6 separate regions of the Homo sapiens genome follow, and regions 1, 2, 3, 5 and 6 are each linked to region 4. Evidence: promoter capture Hi-C in 16 types of primary human blood cells and fetal thymus (Javierre and others, 2016). All regions are on one chromosome and are shown on one strand. The core of a region is centred on a gene start or on the middle of the fragment in contact, and the rest is flanking DNA. Distances in the headings are between cores, read along the strand shown.

Region 1 (2,700 bases), core at 80-2,579, 360 kb after region 4:
CACCCCCTCATGAAGCAGCTGGGCTTGGAGATAGCTTCTGAGTAAGATTGCTTCTAAAATTCTGCAGAATGTCTGCTCACCAAGTTGCCCTGCTATGGATAGGCTAGGGTTTCTCCTCGATATAAATTTCCTTTCCTCTGTGTCAAGAGGAATGGCTCCATTCCTGAATTATGTTCTTAAATAAACAGCCACACAGGCATGTGTGCGCGCGCGCGCACACACACACACACACACACACACACGAAACCAGCAGATTGTTCTGGGGACCATGCGAGAGCCCAACTCATAGAGAGGGGAATAAAGAGGCATGTTTTATGGGCTTCCATCAAATACAGAATTATAACAAAGACGAGGCTGGCTGATGCCCCGGGTAAACAGGAGTTTAGCAGACAACCTCGAAACTGCTAATGCAAGCCCTGTGCCCGTCCGAGCCTGGCAGATTTACTGTGGTGCATGGGCCCCATGGAACACCAATACCACCTGATTTATACACCTGTGCAAAAAACCTCCCTCTCTAGCTTCAGAGCCTGTAATTTATCACCACCGTTCATAACCATATTGATTGCCTTTAGAAAGGAGGTGCTGTATGCATCGCAAAATCTATGTCTACATGTTAAAAGCGTTTCCATATAAATCTCCCTTAATACCGTGCTGTTTACTGCTTTCATTAAGGTTATGGCAATAACAACTGTATCTCTAAGTAAATCGAAACATTATTTCTCTGCCTGCCTTACTGCGCTGGGCTCAATAACTTGGAGCTGGGGCCCAGAGCTGCTGAGGAAGGAGCCACACCACCTCTCTGCCATCAGCCGGAACCTGGTTAGAGCTGCACGTCCCCATGCGTCTATGTGAGCACACACCAGTGTGTGTGAGTGTGTGTGCATGCGTGGTGTACCTGTGTGTGTGCATGCCTGGCAGTGGTTTAGAATATGATCTTAAATGCGCATTTTATCAGCCCTTGAAGCTCTTGCCACACAAGGATGGCAGGGTTGAAACACACAGGGGACAGACAGTTGTGGGCCCAGAATATGAATTTTCCTCCTTACATACAGAACAGTGGATGGGTTGCAAAGCTGGCCTGCCTGCCCTCGCCTTCCCTTTAGTTGCAAGCATCTAGAAGATGTTCTTTTCCTTAAATAATCAGGCCCGTAAACAAACTCCAGGGGCAGGCAGGCTCAGAGGGCAGTTGAAATTTTAAATGGTTGGAATTAAACCTCACGTCAAATACAATTTATGTCCGGGCTCATGTGCTATTAGTTAACGGGGAGCCGAATCACGGGGGAACAAACAAACGGAGACAGAACGGCGGGGGATATTAATTGTGTGTGACAACCAGGCTCCAGCGGCCCTCTATCACTGTTACACACTATTACATTTATCATTAGCTCTCACTGAGTCCTGTGCGCTGCCACCAGCCCATCCTGGCCAGGGGAGGGGGTCCATCAGGCGAGAGAGAGTGGGGGAAGAAACCCAATGCCATGCTAAAAAAAAAAGACCTCTAAAAAACAACCCTGTCGAACTTGATGGAGGATCAGCCCGCTCTGCCTGAAGGCCTGCGCATCTGCATCCGCTGTCCAGCTCCCACCCAGAAAGCGGGAAAAGAGAGGGCTGGATTTCCTGGGCTTCCTGCCACCTGACAGTACCAGCACAAGCGCCCGCTGGGGCCTCCCTCTGCCCACGGTACCGCAGGGAGTAAAGTAAACACATCTGGCTGTGTTCCCTTCCCCCGCCACGGCAAGCAGCCCATGATTAGCTGCCTGAATGCTTTCTCCAAACAAGAAACTGGGAGATGCCCCTCACCTTCTACCCTTGTCTGCCAAGAGAAGGTAGTGGACCTTTAAAGATGAAACACGCCCGCTTCTTTCAGGCAGCTCAGGCTCCCAAGGAGCCCAAGGATGTGGACAGATCCAGCCCAAACAGACTTTTCCCCCCAGAGAAATAGGCCAGGGAGGTGGCCACACTTGGTTTTTGAGGGAGGAATGTGCTGGAGCTCAGGAAGGTAAACTTCTCAAATAGGCTGCGCTTTCCTTTCGGCAGGAGCCCCCCCATCCTGCCCACCAAGGGTGCACGGGCCAGCCCCAGCCTTCTGGGGAGCACACCTCATTGCCCGCTCCCTGCCTCCCCCGAGGATAGAGTCAGCATGTTAGCGTTAGAGACCAGTGAGGCGGGAGTGTGGGGAGGCTGTATCCACATGCTGCGTGCAGCGGCCCCAGGGTGGGAGCCAGTGTTAGGGGTGGTTAGACACCCGCGAGGACAGGCAGAGAGCACATGCGCTCCAGTCCTCACAGTTTATTCTTTCTTTTCTGATACTTTGTCACCATGTCCTGCAAACTGGAAATAGAAGGAAAATGGTGGGCAAGGGGTCCAGAGGAAACAGATGAAATCAATCGGCAACCCAAGGTGGACCCCTTAGCTGAAGACCTCTCTTCCCTCAGCAAGAGCCAGCTCTGGCTGGTTGAGACCAGGTAGTGGGATGCGTGATGGCACTGTCCTCAAAATCTGATGCGGGCTGCCCCTGGCACCTCTCCCCTGCCCCAAAGCAGCAGGGTCCCTGCGCTGCCCCAGACCTGCCTGCAGGATGGGCCCCAGCCCTAAGGTGGGAAGGGGGCAGATCTAGGGTCCACCTAGGGCAGCCCTGGGAGCTTCTCCATGGCCTGGTGCTACCCCGCACTGCTGGCCTTCCTTCCTCGTGACTGTCTC
Region 2 (2,700 bases), core at 99-2,598, 450 kb after region 4:
TAAACAAATATTGAACTCTAGTGAATGATATGTATGTTAAAGTATTTGGGGCGAAATATACTGATGTCTACGTTTTACTTTGAGATGTGTAAAATTTTAAGACAGCTTGATGAGGTTGGGCAAGGTGGCTCACATCTATAATCCCAACACTTTGGGAGGCCGAGACGGGCAGATCGCTTGAGCTCAGGAGTCGGAGACAAGCCTGGGCAACATGGCAAAGCCCTGTCTCTACTCAAAATACAAAAAATTATCTGGATGTGGTGGTGCATGCCTGTGGGAGCTACTTGGGAGGCTAAAGTGGGAAGATCACCTGAGCCTGGGAGGTCGAGGCTACATTGAGCCACGATCATGCCATTGCATTCCAGCCTGGGTAACAGAGTAAGACCCTGTCTCAAAAGAAAGAAAGAAAAAAAAAAAAAACCATAGCCTGATGGATGGATCAAGGGATACAGATGTGTAAAAGCAAGGATAGGAAAATGTTAATTGTAGAATCTAGGAAATGGAGGGTATTCGTTGCAAAATTCTTTAACTTTTCTGAATGTTTGCAGGTCATTGTGATAAAATTTTGGGAAAAAATATGTATCTATCAGCCACTTCCTAAAGGCAAGCAACATAAAGATAAGTAAGCCCAGTGTCAGAGCTCAGGCTTTGGATATCAAGTAACAAACCTGTGAACAAATCTGAGTAAACAGGGCCGGGCGCAATGGCTCACGCCTGTAATCCTAGCACTTTGGAAGGCCGAGGAGGGCAGATCACCTGAGATCAGGTGTTCGAAACCAGCCTGGTCAACACGGTGAAACCTTGTCTCTACTAAAAATAGCTGGGCATGGTGGCATGCGCCTGTAATCCCAGCTACTCAGGAGGCTGAGGCAGGAGAATCGCTGAAACCTGGGAGGCAGAGGTTGCAGTGAGCCGAGATCATGCCACTGCACTCCAGCCTGGGCGACAGAACAAGACTCTGTCTAAAAAAAAAAAAATTAAATAAAAATGAAAAAAAATATGAGTAAATAGCTATGAAATCTCAGGCAAATCACTTAAGGCCTCCATGCCTCCATTTCCCCATCTATAAAAATGGAGATAATAATGGTACCTACCACCTAAGGTGGGGGAATTAAATGAAATATATTTAATTACCCTCAGAGAGGTACCTAATAGTAGCAGGGCACAGTTTTTGCAGTCTAAATGACACAGTAGAGAGGATAACAGAGTACACAAGTATGACTAAAATAAGTCAAAACCTTTGTACATGGAAAGTAAAGCCCAAAGAAGTGAAGGTAACTTGATAAGCACAAGGCCAAGCTGGATCACACTGGCTTGAGTCCAGAGGGCCCACGTAGCTAGTGCCAAGGATACTATGGACAGGCAATTTGTAGGGGCAGAAATACAAATGGCCATCAAACATGAACAGGTATTCAGCCTCCATAACATTCACAGACATGTGAAATTGAGGTATACTATTTTCAATTAGCAGTTTAGTAAAAACTATCAAGGTTGATAATATCAATCAATTAGGGCATGGGATGCAGGGAGTCTCATAAGTCTTGGTGGAAACACAAATTGGTAGGTTGGTGCAAAAGTAATTATGGTTTTTGCCGTTACTTTTTTTTTTTTTGAGACGGAGTTTCGCTCTTGTTGCCCAGGCTGGAGTGCAATGGCCCGATTTCAGCTCACTGCAATCCGCCTCCCGGGTTCAAGCAATTCTCCTGCCTCAGCCTCCTGAGTAGCTGGAATTACAGGCATGCGCCACCATGACCGGCTAATTTTGTATTTTTAGTAGAGACGGGGTTTCTCCATGTTGGTCAGGCTGGTCTTGAACTCCTGACCTCAGGTGATCTGCCTGCCTCGGCCTTCCAAAGTGCTGGGATTACAGGCTTGAGCCACTGCGCCCGGCCCTTTTTTTTTTTTTTGAGACGCAGTCTTGCTCTTTCACCAGGCCAGAGTGCAGTGGCACGATCTCTGCTCACTGCAAGCTCCGCCTCCCGGGTTCACGCCATTCTCCTGCCTCAGCCTCCCGAGTAGCTGGTACTACAGGCGCCCGCCACCGCGCCTGGCTAATTTTTTGTATTTTTAGTAGAGACGGGGTTTCACCATGTTACCCAGGATGGTCTCGATCTCCTGACCTCGTGATCCGCCCGCCTCGGCTCCCAAAGTGCTGGGATTACAGGCGTGAGCCACCGCACCCGGCCTGCCGTTACTTTTTAATGGCAAAAACCTCAATTACTTTTGCACCAACTAATGTATTTTCAGAGGTCAAGTCAGTGGTATCTGTGAAAAAAAAAAATTTTTTTAAGAGACAAGGTCTTGCTTTGTCACCCAGGCTGGAGTTTGGTGGCTCAATCATAGATCACTACAGACTTGAACTCCTGGGCTCAAGTGATCCTCCTGTCTTAGCCTCCTGAGTAGCTGTGACTACAGGTGTGCGCCACCATTACTGGCTAACTTTTTAAAAATTGTTTTAGAGACAGGTTCTTGCTATTCTGTCCAGGCTGGTCTCAAACTCCTGGCCCCAAGCAATCCTCCTGCCTCAGCCTCCTGAGTAGCTAGGATTACAGGCACCACCACTGCACCTGGCATATGAAAATATTTATGTACATATTCTTTGGGCAATTCCATTATAAGACATCTATAGGTACATTCACATAATATACATGGCTAATCCTTGCAGCATTGTTTATAATAGCAAGTCTATAAATATAAAAG
Region 3 (2,700 bases), core at 115-2,614, 410 kb after region 4:
GACCCCTCTCCTTCCAGCCAGAAGGAGCCTGCATGAGCACAGGGAAGTAGTGGCAAAACTTGATGCTCCTCTCCCACACCCTGGGAGGCCTCAGCAGGGTCCAAAAAAGGGAAGCTTGAAGAGAACTGTCCCCAACTCAGAGGCCAGCCAAGAAGGCAACACTTTCCAAGGGAAAGAGGCTGGACTGACCCTCCCTCCTGCTTCTCAGCCTCCTGCCCCACCCAGAGAACACTTTCTGGGAAGATAGGGTTGCCCCTATATCCCAAGGGGCCCACTGTACCCATCTGCCATCCAAGCACAGGGCTCCTCAAGAGTCCTGCTGCCAGATGGTCATGCTGGCCAGGCCTAAAGAAGGCAGTGATGGCAGTGAGGGCATCAATAACAACTGTTATTAGCACCACTATCAACGCTACCATTTATGGAGCACCCACCATGCCAGGGACCGGCTTGGAGCATTATCTGTATCATTTCTAATCTTCTGGTTACTTAAAACCCTTATTAACCCTTATTTGCAATTCCAAAATCCCAAAAGCCCCCCCAAACAAAATATTTTTCTTAACTATTTTGGCGGCAAAACCTGGCAGTTTATCCTCTATGCCCCTGTAGTGTGAATATTCATAGATTTTGCTTTGGAAATATTAATGTTTGTTACACGTTGTTGCTCATTATGTATACTGTATGGCACTAAAATACAAAGATTACTAATTTCCAAAATACTGCCACACCCAGGGTATCAGAGAAGAAATTTTGGACCTGTATTATCCCCACTCAACAGAGGAAGTCTGAGATGGGACTTTGCTGAGGTCCCAGGGGATGAGTGGCTGGGAATGCAAGCCCAGATCCCTGACTTGAGAAAACAGTCTTTCCTCCTGGAACTGATCTGCTGAGACTCTGATCCTCGGGTTTGGGTCTCAGGCCTCAAGCTGGCGCCATGTAGCTGGGGACCAGGCCCTGACTCCCTATGGCAAGGCCAACATGCTGCTTAGCAGTTTCCATCCCAGCCGCCAGGCCAGAGCCCAGGCAACTGCAGGGTCCGCATTGGGTTAGGGAAAGCCATGCAGCCCCTGCCGGCCATCAGCACACGACCCTGGGCCCAGCCTCTCGGTCATGCGGGGTTCGCTGAGGTCGCTTGGGGAAGCCGGCTGTGAGGGTGCCTGGCCCTTGAGCTAGGGTGGTGAGGGGCAGGAGCGGTTAGTGACACACTCTTGTACCTCCTGCTTCACACCAGGGACTGGTGACTTGGACTGCTGCTCTCCAGTGAGGTCTGACTTCGGGCCGGTGGAGCCTGGGGTCACCAGCTCTTCCGGTGGGGCTGGGGAGCGCTGCTTCTTTGGGGCTTCAGGCTTGGCTGGGGATCCTGCTTTCTCAGGGGAGTCTGCCCAGTCTGGGGAGCCTGGCTCCTGGCTGGAGGGCTTCTCCCCCTTCCCAGAAGACTGCTTGCCGCGGGCCTTGTGCTCCTTGCCCCTGCCCCGAGACATCAGGCTCCGCAGGCCCAGGGAGAGCTCATCCTTGGCTGCCTCCTTCTTCACTTCAGGCTTAGGCGGAGCAGGGGGAGGTGGGGGAGGGGGTGGCGGCTTGGGACTAGAAGCTGCCTTTTCTCCCCTCTTGCTTCGAGTCGGGTGCTCGGGGGACTTGACTCCTCTGCCTGGGGTCTCCTTGGCATTCCCAAGCTCCTCGCTGGGCAGCACCTTACTCACCACCTTCCTCACTGCATTTGCCACCCGCTTCCGGGACAGGCCCTGGGCCTCTTCGCTTAGGCCTTCTGCTGTGGCAGCTCCCGGGCCGTTCATGGCGAGTGTGGGTGCAGGGCTCCTGGCTCTCTGGGAAGTCTCTGGGGGTATCGGGCTGGTGGGAGGCTGAGGACTCCTAGATGGGCCACTGCCTTCCTTTGAGCTGCCCTCTAGCTACAGTCATACAAATACAGGTAGACATTAGCATCACCCCTGCAGCCCTGCCCATCCCATGCAGAGGGAATAAGAAGGTGTGACCTCACGCCCTGGAACAGATCTCCCATTCATCTACCAAGCAACACATGGCTCCACGAGGCTACCCCAGGAAGCCCACTTTCCATCTTACAAATAGGACAACTGCAGCTAAGAGTCTGGCTTCTTTCCCACAAAGCACAATCAGCACAATCAGGTACTACTGTCACCTGCTGTCTATCCCCAGACTTAGCATGGACCTGTGAGATGCCGGCACAGAGCGCCGAGAGGCCTATGAGGTGCTCTGGGGTTACTGGCTTTGTGTCAGGGCAGCAACCAAGTCCCATTCTAGGTGAGCCCACTGCCTCGCAGCCCAGACACAGCAGAGATGGAGCATGGACACAGCAGAGATGGAGCATGGAGAGGTCAAACAGCCGAGTCCCACCTCCATTCCTACCACCAATCCCAGGCCTAACTCCAGGGCGTCCTGACCTTTGTAGTCCTTGGTCCTTCCATCACCTGTTTTCCGGGCAGTCAGACCAAGAGCCTACCCATCCTGAAGGAAAAAATGATCAGGGAGCTCTTCCTGGCCCCAAGACATGCCAGGCCTCCTCCTCACAGCGTCCCTCGTCTGCGGCCACTGTCTGCCCTTCATCTATGTTCTCAAGCACTGAGGAGCCCAGCACGGGCCAGGAAGCTTCCACTTCAGCCTGCTTTCTGCCAGTCTCCTTGCAGTTTTCCTCCTGCAAACCTCTCAAGGGTTTGGAGACCCCCTAGT
Region 4 (2,700 bases), core at 80-2,579:
TCAAAGGGGACATGTCTGGTTTTATGAAGGGAGAGGGAAGAAGAAAGGATCAAGTGGGGATGGGTTAGGCACACACCTTAGGAGAAGCGAACCTGAGTGTTAAGAAACCTTTCTCTGTGTCTGGAGCTGAATTTGAGGATGTAAAGATGACCAGGACACGGAAGGGAAGACTAGTTTAGGGCAGGGGATTGTGAGTGAAGTTACTAACCGGAAAAACTAGCGAATCTTGGAGAAATGTGTGGAATTTTCATAGAACTTCAAATGCATTATCAGGAAACGCAGTAAAACTTGACAGTATCAGTGTCGCAGGTAAAGAGGGGCAGGTGTGGCCGCCTTGTACTTCCTCTGACACTTCCCCCTCGTGACTCGATTATTTATTTATTTATTTATTTATTTATTTTGAGACAGGGTCTCACTCTGCCACCCAGGCTGGAATGGCTCATTGCAGCCTCGACCTCCAGGGCTGAAGCGATCCTCCCACCTCAGCCTCCCAAGGAACTGGGACTACAGGCACGCACCACCACGCCCGGCTAATTTTTGTATTCTTTTGTAGAGACAGGGTTTCGCCGTGTTGCCCAGGGTGGTCTCGAACTCCTGGGCTCGAAGCAATTCGTCCACCTCGGCCTCACAAAGTGCTGGGATTACAGGCGTGAGTCACCGCGCCCGGCCCTGACTTGATTTTTTTCTGCCACCAAATCACTGTGTTATTGATAAACCACATTCCTCTCTGGACCTCAGTTCGACCGAGCAAATCCTGCTCCAGCACTCTAGAACTTAGCTGTATCTAACTCCCGAGTCAATCCAAATGTGTTCTTTCCTCTTGGCAGCGTTCCTGCCTCCTGGCATGGCAATCCTCTTCCCTGAGACTGGCAGTTGCTCAAGATAGGAAGCTCCCGGGACCAGACCCGAGCGCCAGCCGGCTACGCCGTCCGCTGGCCTGAGCAAATAAACGCGTGTCTTCAAAAAACTACAATCCCCATGGTGGCACGCGCCTGTAGTCCCAGCTACTCTGGTGGCTGAGGCAGGAGAATGGCGTAAACCCGGGAGGCGGAGCTTACAGTGAGCCGAGATCGCGCCACTGCACTCCAGCCTGGGCGACAGAGCGCTCAAAAAAAAAACAAAAAACAAAAAACAAAAAACTACAACCCCCATGAAGCTTTAGTGCCTTTGAGGGGAGGAGTGGCGCATGTTTGTTCACGCACGAAAAAGAAATTAAACCTAACTACCGTTCCCAGAGGGCGCCGCTCTGCAAATTACCCAATCAGCTCTAAGTACAAAGCATCGCGAGTCTTTAGTGCTCTTTGGCGCTATAAGCCCGTGGGAACGAGCATTGGAGACCCTTTTCACAAGATGGCGCCGAAAGCGAAGAAGGAAGGTGTGTGTTGGTGATGGGGCCGCAGCTGGTTTACCGGGGATTGCCGCGCCGCAGAGCGAACGAATTGGGAACACGGCTGCTGGGCTAAGCCCTGAGGGCTCTGCTCCGGGGCTGCTCCCTGCGTTTCGGACACGCTGCAGTATACGTGGGCCGCGTGGGCCCAGCCTCGTGGGCTGAGTTCCGGTAGAGGGAGTTGGGGGGGGGCAACGCGGCAGGCATCATCCGCCAGGGAGGGCCAGACATTCGGTTCTGGGAAGCTACATGCATCCACTGGTTGGAGCTCCATGTCCCCGGGCCTGTAAGGAATTAGTGCCCTCAGCTTTAACCATTTTCCTTCTGGTTCATGTTCAACCGGGCTACATTACCCGCCCCTCTCTCCGCAGCGTGGTTTTGCGATGGGGTATGTGTAAAATTCGTAGGACATTTTCTGGAAAGTATCAAGCGTTCATTCAGTGCTACTTTGTTTCATAGTCGTATCCCTGGAGTTACTTAGAGTTGGTCGCTTTCGCCTCTGGTATCGTGCATATGATGGAAAAGTTTTAATCTCCTGACACTTGTGATGTCTTCAAAGGAACCACTGATGCACCTGTGGCCAGGGTGGCCCACTGCAGTTCTTGGGGCCGGAAGTGACCGATTTCTAAATCCCGCACCCACGTTTTCTTTCCTTTTCTCCCAGCTCCTGCCCCTCCTAAAGCTGAAGCCAAAGCGAAGGCTTTAAAGGCCAAGAAGGCAGTGTTGAAAGGTGTCCACAGCCACAAAAAGAAGAAGATCCGCACGTCACCCACCTTCCGGCGGCCGAAGACACTGCGACTCCGGAGACAGCCCAAATATCCTCGGAAGAGCGCTCCCAGGAGAAACAAGTCAGTACTGCCCCCTGTACCCATGAAAAGATTTGGGTATTCTCCATTGGTAATTTGGAAATTCACTCACTCTGCGTGATGGTTTCTCAAACGCAAATTGTGTCCAGTGTGCTTCTCTAATTGGAAGTATGAGGAGATTGTTTCTGCTGCATTTACAAAACTGGCAGGATCAGCCCAGAGGCCGGGCGCGGTGGCTCACGTCTGTAATCCCAGCACTTTGGGAGGCCGAGGGGGGGCGGATCACTTGAGGTCAGGGGTTCGAGACCAGCCTGAGTGACATGGAGAAACCCCGCGTCTATTAAAAATAGAAAATTCGCCGGGCATGGTGGCGCATGTCTGTAATCCCAGCTACTCGCGGGAGGCTGAGGCAGGAGAATCGCTTGAACCCGGGAGGTGGAGGTTGCGGTGAGCGGAGATCGTACCATTGCATTCCAGCCTGGGCAATAAGAGTGAAACTCTGTCTCA
Region 5 (2,700 bases), core at 38-2,537, 320 kb after region 4:
CCTGTAACAGGAAAAAAAAAAAAAAGATAAAGAAAAATCCAGTCCGATGGCACCTCCTCTCTGGGCTCCTGTTTTCCTAAGAACAAAAGGGCTAGGCTGAGAGGACAGCCAGTTGCCAAGATCAGTCTGGGGGATTACTTGTGGAATGAGAAGCATTGCTGGCGGCCTTGGCAGGCCACTGTAAGGAGGCAGGGCAGCTCCCTGTAGTCATGTGGGTTTCCTGGACCATTATTTTCTCCCACTCATTGTGGGAGAAATAGCAAAATATTGAAATCGGAATCATCATTACAAGTTCTGACTCATCCTCAGTAAAGCACAGTGGTTAAAGGAACGGATTCTGGGGCAGACAGACCTAGGTTCACAGTTCAGTGTCTTTCTTTTCTTTCTTTCTTTTTTTTTTTTTTTTTTCCATAGAGCTGGAATCTTGCTCCATTGCCCAGGCTGGAGTACAATGGTGTGATTATAGCTCACTGCAGCCTCAAACTCCTGGGCTCAAGTGACCCTCCTGCCTCAGCCTCCCAAGTAAGTAAGACTACAGGCATGCACCACCATCCCTGGCTAATTTTTAACATTTTTTGTAGAGATGCGGTCTTGCTATGTTGCCCAGACTGGTCTCAAACTTCTGGCCTCAAGTGATTCTCCCGCCTCGGCCTCTCAAAGTGTTGGGATTACAGACGTGAGCCACTGTGCCCAGCCTCAGTGTCTTTGTATACCAGGGGTGTTGCTTTGGGTAAGATAGAATCTCTCTAAGCCTTCACGTCTTCAGCCATTAAGTAATATTTTGGTTATGGCTGTGTAAAAAACCTCCCCAAAATGTTGTGGCTGAAAACAACAACCATTTTATTCTGTTTCATGGTTTTGTGGATCAGGAATGAAGCTTGACTGGGTGATTCTTCTGCACTATGCAGCATCAATTGGGTCACTTGGTACTATTTGGCTGGTGCTAGGCTGGGCTGGAGGAACCAAGATGACTTCACTTTTCTTTGAGACAAGGTCTTGCTATGTTGCACAGGTTTGTCTGGAACTCCTGGCCTCAAGCGATCCTTCCTGACTCAGCCTCCCAAACCAAGATAACTTCATTCTTATATAGAGTTCTCCACCTGGTCCCAGGTCCTCTCCATGTGAACTCTCCCATAGGGTGCCTGCACTTCTAACATGGTGGCTCAGGGCTCAGAGAGTAAGGGCTCCTTGGCCAGGTGCGGTGGCTCATGCCTGTAACCCCAGCACTTTGGGAGGCCGAGGTGGTCGGATCATGAGGTCAGGAGTTCGAGACCAGCCTGGCCAATATGGTGAAACCCCGTCTCTACTAAAAATATGAAAAATTAGCTGGGTGTAGTGGCGCTCGCCTGTAGGCCCAGCTACTCGGGAAGCTGAGGCAGAAGAATCGCTTGAACCCACGAGTCAGAGGTTGCAGTGAGCCAAGATAGTGCCACTGCTCTCCTGCCTGGATGACAAAACGAGACTCCCTCTCAAAAAAAAAAAAAAAGTAAGGGCTCCAACATAAGAAGAGGAAGCTGCCAGTCTCTTTAGGGCTGTGCCAGAAAGTGTCATGGTATCACTTTTGCCATATTTTATGGGTCAAGCAGTCACAGAGTCTGTGATAGAAGGAGTGAAAAAGAATTTGGGGCCATCCTTAATCTGCCAAAAGTAGGCATAAAAATACTCCTAAGCCAGGTGCAGTGTCTCACACCTGTAATCCAAGCTTTTGGGAGGATGAGGTGGGAGGATTGTATGAGTCCAGGAGTTCGAGACCAGCCTGAGCAACACAGTGAGCCCTCGTCTCTACAAAAAATAAACAAAATTAGCTGAGCATGGTGGCATGCGTTTGTAGTTTCAGCTACTCGGGCGGCTGAGGTAGGAGGACCCCTTGAGCCCAGGAAGTGGAGGCTACAGTGAGCCGAGTTCGTGCCACTGCACTCCAGCCTGCGTGACAGTGAGATCCCAGAGATCCTCTCAAAAACCAAAACTTCAAAAACAAAAACCCGCAGAAACTCCTAGGGCTATGAGGAGTAAATGAGATAACTCATGCAGAGGCAAATTTACCATGAAGCAAATGAAACTTCAACCATGGGGGTCCTTAATTGAACAGTTTCTTCCACATCCGGGCATCTAATTTTGTATTAATAATTCTCCTTTTTTCTTTTTCTCAAAGAGTACCCTCGAACTGTATGACAATCAAGCCCTACCCAAATGCCAGTATCAGTACTTACTAAGCATACTGCCTGGGACAGAGAGATGCTCAACACGGGGCCCCTCCAGGCACTGGGCTGGCCTGGTCCCCTCTCTGTGGCTGAGGAGAGGGCTCCTCCTCTCACTCTGCCCTTTCTGTCTTTTCAGGATCATTTCTTCTTTCTTCAAAATGAAAGTAAAACATGCTGGGAATAATTTCATAATTACAAAACTGCCCTCCCAATTGGCCCCTGCCTCTACCCCCTGACCTCACCACCCACCAGGGAGGTGGGTCTTATTCTGGGCATCGTGCCAAGTTCTTAGCGGGGCCCTCTAGAATCTCTAAAGCAAATCAGGCTGAAGAGGGGAAAACCAGCAGGGGGAGGCAGCATTCCCGGTGCCCAGTATGGTCTAGGAGGCATTGAAATTCCAGGGCCGAAGTCCTGAGACAAAGATCATAATGAGACAGGAAGGTGGCAAAGGAAGGAGCCCATTTGCATGACAATAATTGAGCCAAGAATAGAAAGCCAC
Region 6 (2,700 bases), core at 112-2,611, 290 kb after region 4:
CGGCTTGGCCGGCGCCGGGGGCAGCGCAGCCGGCGGGGCGCGGTGCTTGGACTGGGCAGCCAGATGCCCGAAGCTGGGCACCGGGTCTCCCTTCCCACCCCTGGGGCCCCGCTCCCGCCCCCGTCCTGCCGCCGGATGCCGGGGTCCCTTACCGTGAGCCAGGAGCGCCAGCAGCGAGGGCAGGAGCAGCAGGGCTACCGGGCGCATGGTGCTGGTTGCGGCCGCGCCCTGGGCTGGGACCGCGGCGGGAGGGCGGGGGGCTTGGTGGGGCTTGGGCGCGGGGGCAGAGCCGGGTCCGGCCGGGTAGAGGGAGCGGGGCCGCAGCCGTCACCGCCGCTGCCGCCGCCAGCGCCTGACAGAATCAGCACCACGGCCAGCGCCTGGCGACGGCGCCGGGGATCGCCGAGCGGGGCTGGGGGCGGGGGCGCGGGAGGAGCGGCTTACCGTAAAGTCTCATGCAAAGGCGCAGAGACCCAGGGGCAGGAGCCCAGGCTCCCGCTCCACCGCGACTGCCCTACTCATGTGGGCACACGGCCCCTGCCCTTCTGCGCTGCCCACCCCCAGCCAAGCATGCCACCCTCTTTCCCGTTAACGGCCTGCTAAGGAACCTCAATTAATAGCTCACTGTAGCCTTCTGATTCTCCATGAGAAAGAGCAACACTTTCCCCACCCCTCTCCACCCAATCCTGGTACCTGAGGGCGTCAAGGGTGACCTGGGAAGACATCCGAGAGTGAGGCAGCTGGTGAGGCCCGCGTGCCCTTGTGGCAGTTCCGTCTTGGGACGATAATGAAGATGGCTTTTGAGCGTACAAAGGATAATAAATTATTACTTTGCGCTCAATAAATGCCAGGGCTCCAGGCAGCTGCATCAGCAGCAAACTGTGCTCACAGAAAAGCTTAATTATCCTGATATTATAGTTAAAAGCCAGTGGCACTCGCATCCTGGGGAGACATTCTTCACTTGGCAGGAGGCAACCTGGGCCAAGCTGTGGGCAGCTGAAGGTAGTATCCTGGGTCCCCACGTAGCCCTGGGTCTCCAGGACTCTGCCTTGGCCCCTCTGCAGGACCAGAGAAGCCACAGTGACAGTCGATACAGACCCTTCATGCCATCTCTGCCCAGGTTTCTGGAATTGGTGGAGAAAATGGCATAGGCATGAGAGAGGGTTTCCTAGAGCTGTTATTTTATTTTATTTTATTATTGTTTTTAGAGACAGGGTCTCTGTTGCTTAGGCTGGAAATGCAGTGGCACAATTATATTAATAGCTCACCCAAACTCCTGGGCTCAAGAGATCCTCCCACTTCAGCCTCTCAAGTAGCTAGAACTACAGGCATGCACCCCCAAGCCTGGCTAATTTTTAAATTTTTTGCAGAGATAAGGTCTCATTATGTTGCCCAAACTGGTCTTGAAATCCTGGCCTCAAGAGATCCTCCCGCCTTGGCCTCCCAAAGTGCTGGGATTACAGGCATGAGCCACTGTGCCCTACGGCTGTTTTAGATAGAGACTTGAAGGAGGCCCAGGGGTGTAGCCTGTACTATTAAAGGCATGGAAAAATAACTTTCCAGGGCCCTGCTTGGGCTGAGGAGCCCCAGTGAGTCACAGGACAGCAAGGGGGCAGTCACAGCTGTGCCATCCTGAGGCTGCTCTTTAAAGGCAGGGGCTCATGGATGGGCTCACTTGAAGAGCTTTAATGGGTACAATGGGACAGGATCCTATGGCTGATGTTATTATTCCCTGTAGAGGAATAGGAGGGCTGAACTCCCTATTGCCCCTGGGAGAAGGGCAGTTTTTTGTTTAGTTTCTTTTTACATGAACTTGGTTGCTCTCCAAAGCTTCCAGACTCCAGTCATTGTCCAGTGTCCTTCCTGACCCTCATCCTGGAAGCAGGTGGTGAAATTTCTGCTCAAGTTCCTTAGAGAGTGTTTTGGTCCTCTTGACCAGAGTCTCCCAACTCTGCTGGTTGGATTCTCTCCAGACCCTCTTCTTGTGGGCTCTGGGGAGCTGTGATGACTGCTGTAAAGAGTCCCAGGCAGCAGGCAGATGGCGTGTGGAATTAGGAAGACGCTGGGATTTCTGGACAGTTGTTTTGAGAAGCTGAGGAAAAAGAGGGCAGCAGCAGAAGGATGGCAGGAAGAAGGAGGAGCTGATGCAAGAATCAGGGGTGAGGAGAGGAAGCCAGGAAAGAAGGTGCAAGAGGGGAGGCAGAAAGAGAGTTGCCAACAGAGGAAGGGAAGAGACACAGAGGTAGAAGGTTGTGTGACCGGGGGAAGTTTAGGAAAATGCTGGCAAATGTCATGAGATTCCTCTTTTCCTCCTTGAAAGTATTCCTGGGCTCCTCTAGTATTCCTGGTCCCTCATGGCTAGGCAGCTTGGGCAAGGGGAGTGAGTCATGACCTAGGGATGAATCTTGTATTGCCAGGATGATTCATGGGGATTTGGAGGTTGGTGGCAGGCTTGTCTGACTCTCTTAGCAACAGGGCTCCTTGATGGGCTGGGCACTATGCACATAAAGGAGGGGGAGAGAAGCCATCCTGGAACTTGTCACATCACCTTCCCTATGGCCTGAACTAACCTAGAGGGTCCAATGGAGACTACAAGTCCCAGAATACAGTACTGTACCCTGAGCTCAGAAGATGGGCTTGTACTGCATGATGGGCATGACAATGCACCGGGGCTGTCCCTCCCTCCTAAAGGCAGTTAAC

The links. Contacts are between HindIII fragments. The CHiCAGO score rates a contact against its expected background, and 5 or more counts as called.
Region 1: a contact is called between a fragment that was not itself captured here and the fragment with the promoter of RPL23A in region 4, in 1 of 17 cell types (endothelial precursors). The highest score is 6.0, in endothelial precursors.
Region 2: a fragment that was not itself captured here is called in contact with the fragment with the promoter of RPL23A in region 4 in 1 of 17 cell types (naive CD4 T cells); the score reaches 5.7 in naive CD4 T cells.
Region 3: a contact is called between a fragment that was not itself captured here and the fragment with the promoter of RPL23A in region 4, in 6 of 17 cell types (M0 macrophages, naive CD8 T cells, naive CD4 T cells and 3 more). The highest score is 8.6, in M0 macrophages.
Region 5: a fragment that was not itself captured here is called in contact with the fragment with the promoter of RPL23A in region 4 in 2 of 17 cell types (endothelial precursors and M2 macrophages); the score reaches 6.6 in endothelial precursors.
Region 6: a fragment that was not itself captured here is called in contact with the fragment with the promoter of RPL23A in region 4 in 1 of 17 cell types (fetal thymus); the score reaches 5.0 in fetal thymus.

The regions. Positions count from the first base shown.
Region 1 is chr17:29,083,318-29,086,017 of GRCh38, forward strand. MYO18A (myosin XVIIIA) reads right to left here. Exons shown (of 42, transcript NM_078471.4): 40 at 2,287-2,331. Among named protein-coding and RNA genes, the nearest start is that of PIPOX, 42 kb to the left of the region's middle. The HindIII fragment of the contact is 5,237 bases long and covers 1-2,700 here.
Region 2 is chr17:29,171,500-29,174,199 of GRCh38, forward strand. The region is part of intron 1 of MYO18A (myosin XVIIIA); the gene reads right to left. Among named protein-coding and RNA genes, the nearest start is that of MYO18A, 7.5 kb to the right of the region's middle. The HindIII fragment of the contact is 5,821 bases long and covers 1-2,700 here.
Region 3 is chr17:29,126,641-29,129,340 of GRCh38, forward strand. All of the region lies in intron 2 of MYO18A (myosin XVIIIA), which reads right to left. Among named protein-coding and RNA genes, the nearest start is that of MYO18A, 52 kb to the right of the region's middle. RefSeq lists an enhancer at 837-1,372. The HindIII fragment of the contact is 2,505 bases long and covers 113-2,617 here.
Region 4 is chr17:28,718,656-28,721,355 of GRCh38, forward strand. RPL23A (ribosomal protein L23a) reads left to right here and starts at 1,330. Exons shown (of 5, transcript NM_000984.6): 1 at 1,330-1,375; 2 at 2,052-2,235. The coding sequence starts at 1,351. It overlaps SNORD42B (small nucleolar RNA, C/D box 42B), which reads left to right and starts at 1,895; the gene lies at 1,895-1,961. RefSeq lists enhancers at 1-586, 587-1,188, 845-894, 1,325-1,544, 1,885-2,044. The HindIII fragment of the contact is 1,784 bases long and covers 1,155-2,700 here.
Region 5 is chr17:29,040,269-29,042,968 of GRCh38, forward strand. No RefSeq gene overlaps it. Among named protein-coding and RNA genes, the nearest start is that of PIPOX, 1.5 kb to the right of the region's middle. RefSeq lists an enhancer at 2,352-2,700. The HindIII fragment of the contact is 825 bases long and covers 876-1,700 here.
Region 6 is chr17:29,005,663-29,008,362 of GRCh38, forward strand. SEZ6 (seizure related 6 homolog) reads right to left here and starts at 371. Exons shown (of 17, transcript NM_178860.5): 1 at 153-371. The coding sequence starts at 207. All of the region lies in intron 2 of LOC105371716 (a long non-coding RNA gene), which reads left to right. RefSeq lists a silencer at 134-317. The HindIII fragment of the contact is 934 bases long and covers 895-1,828 here.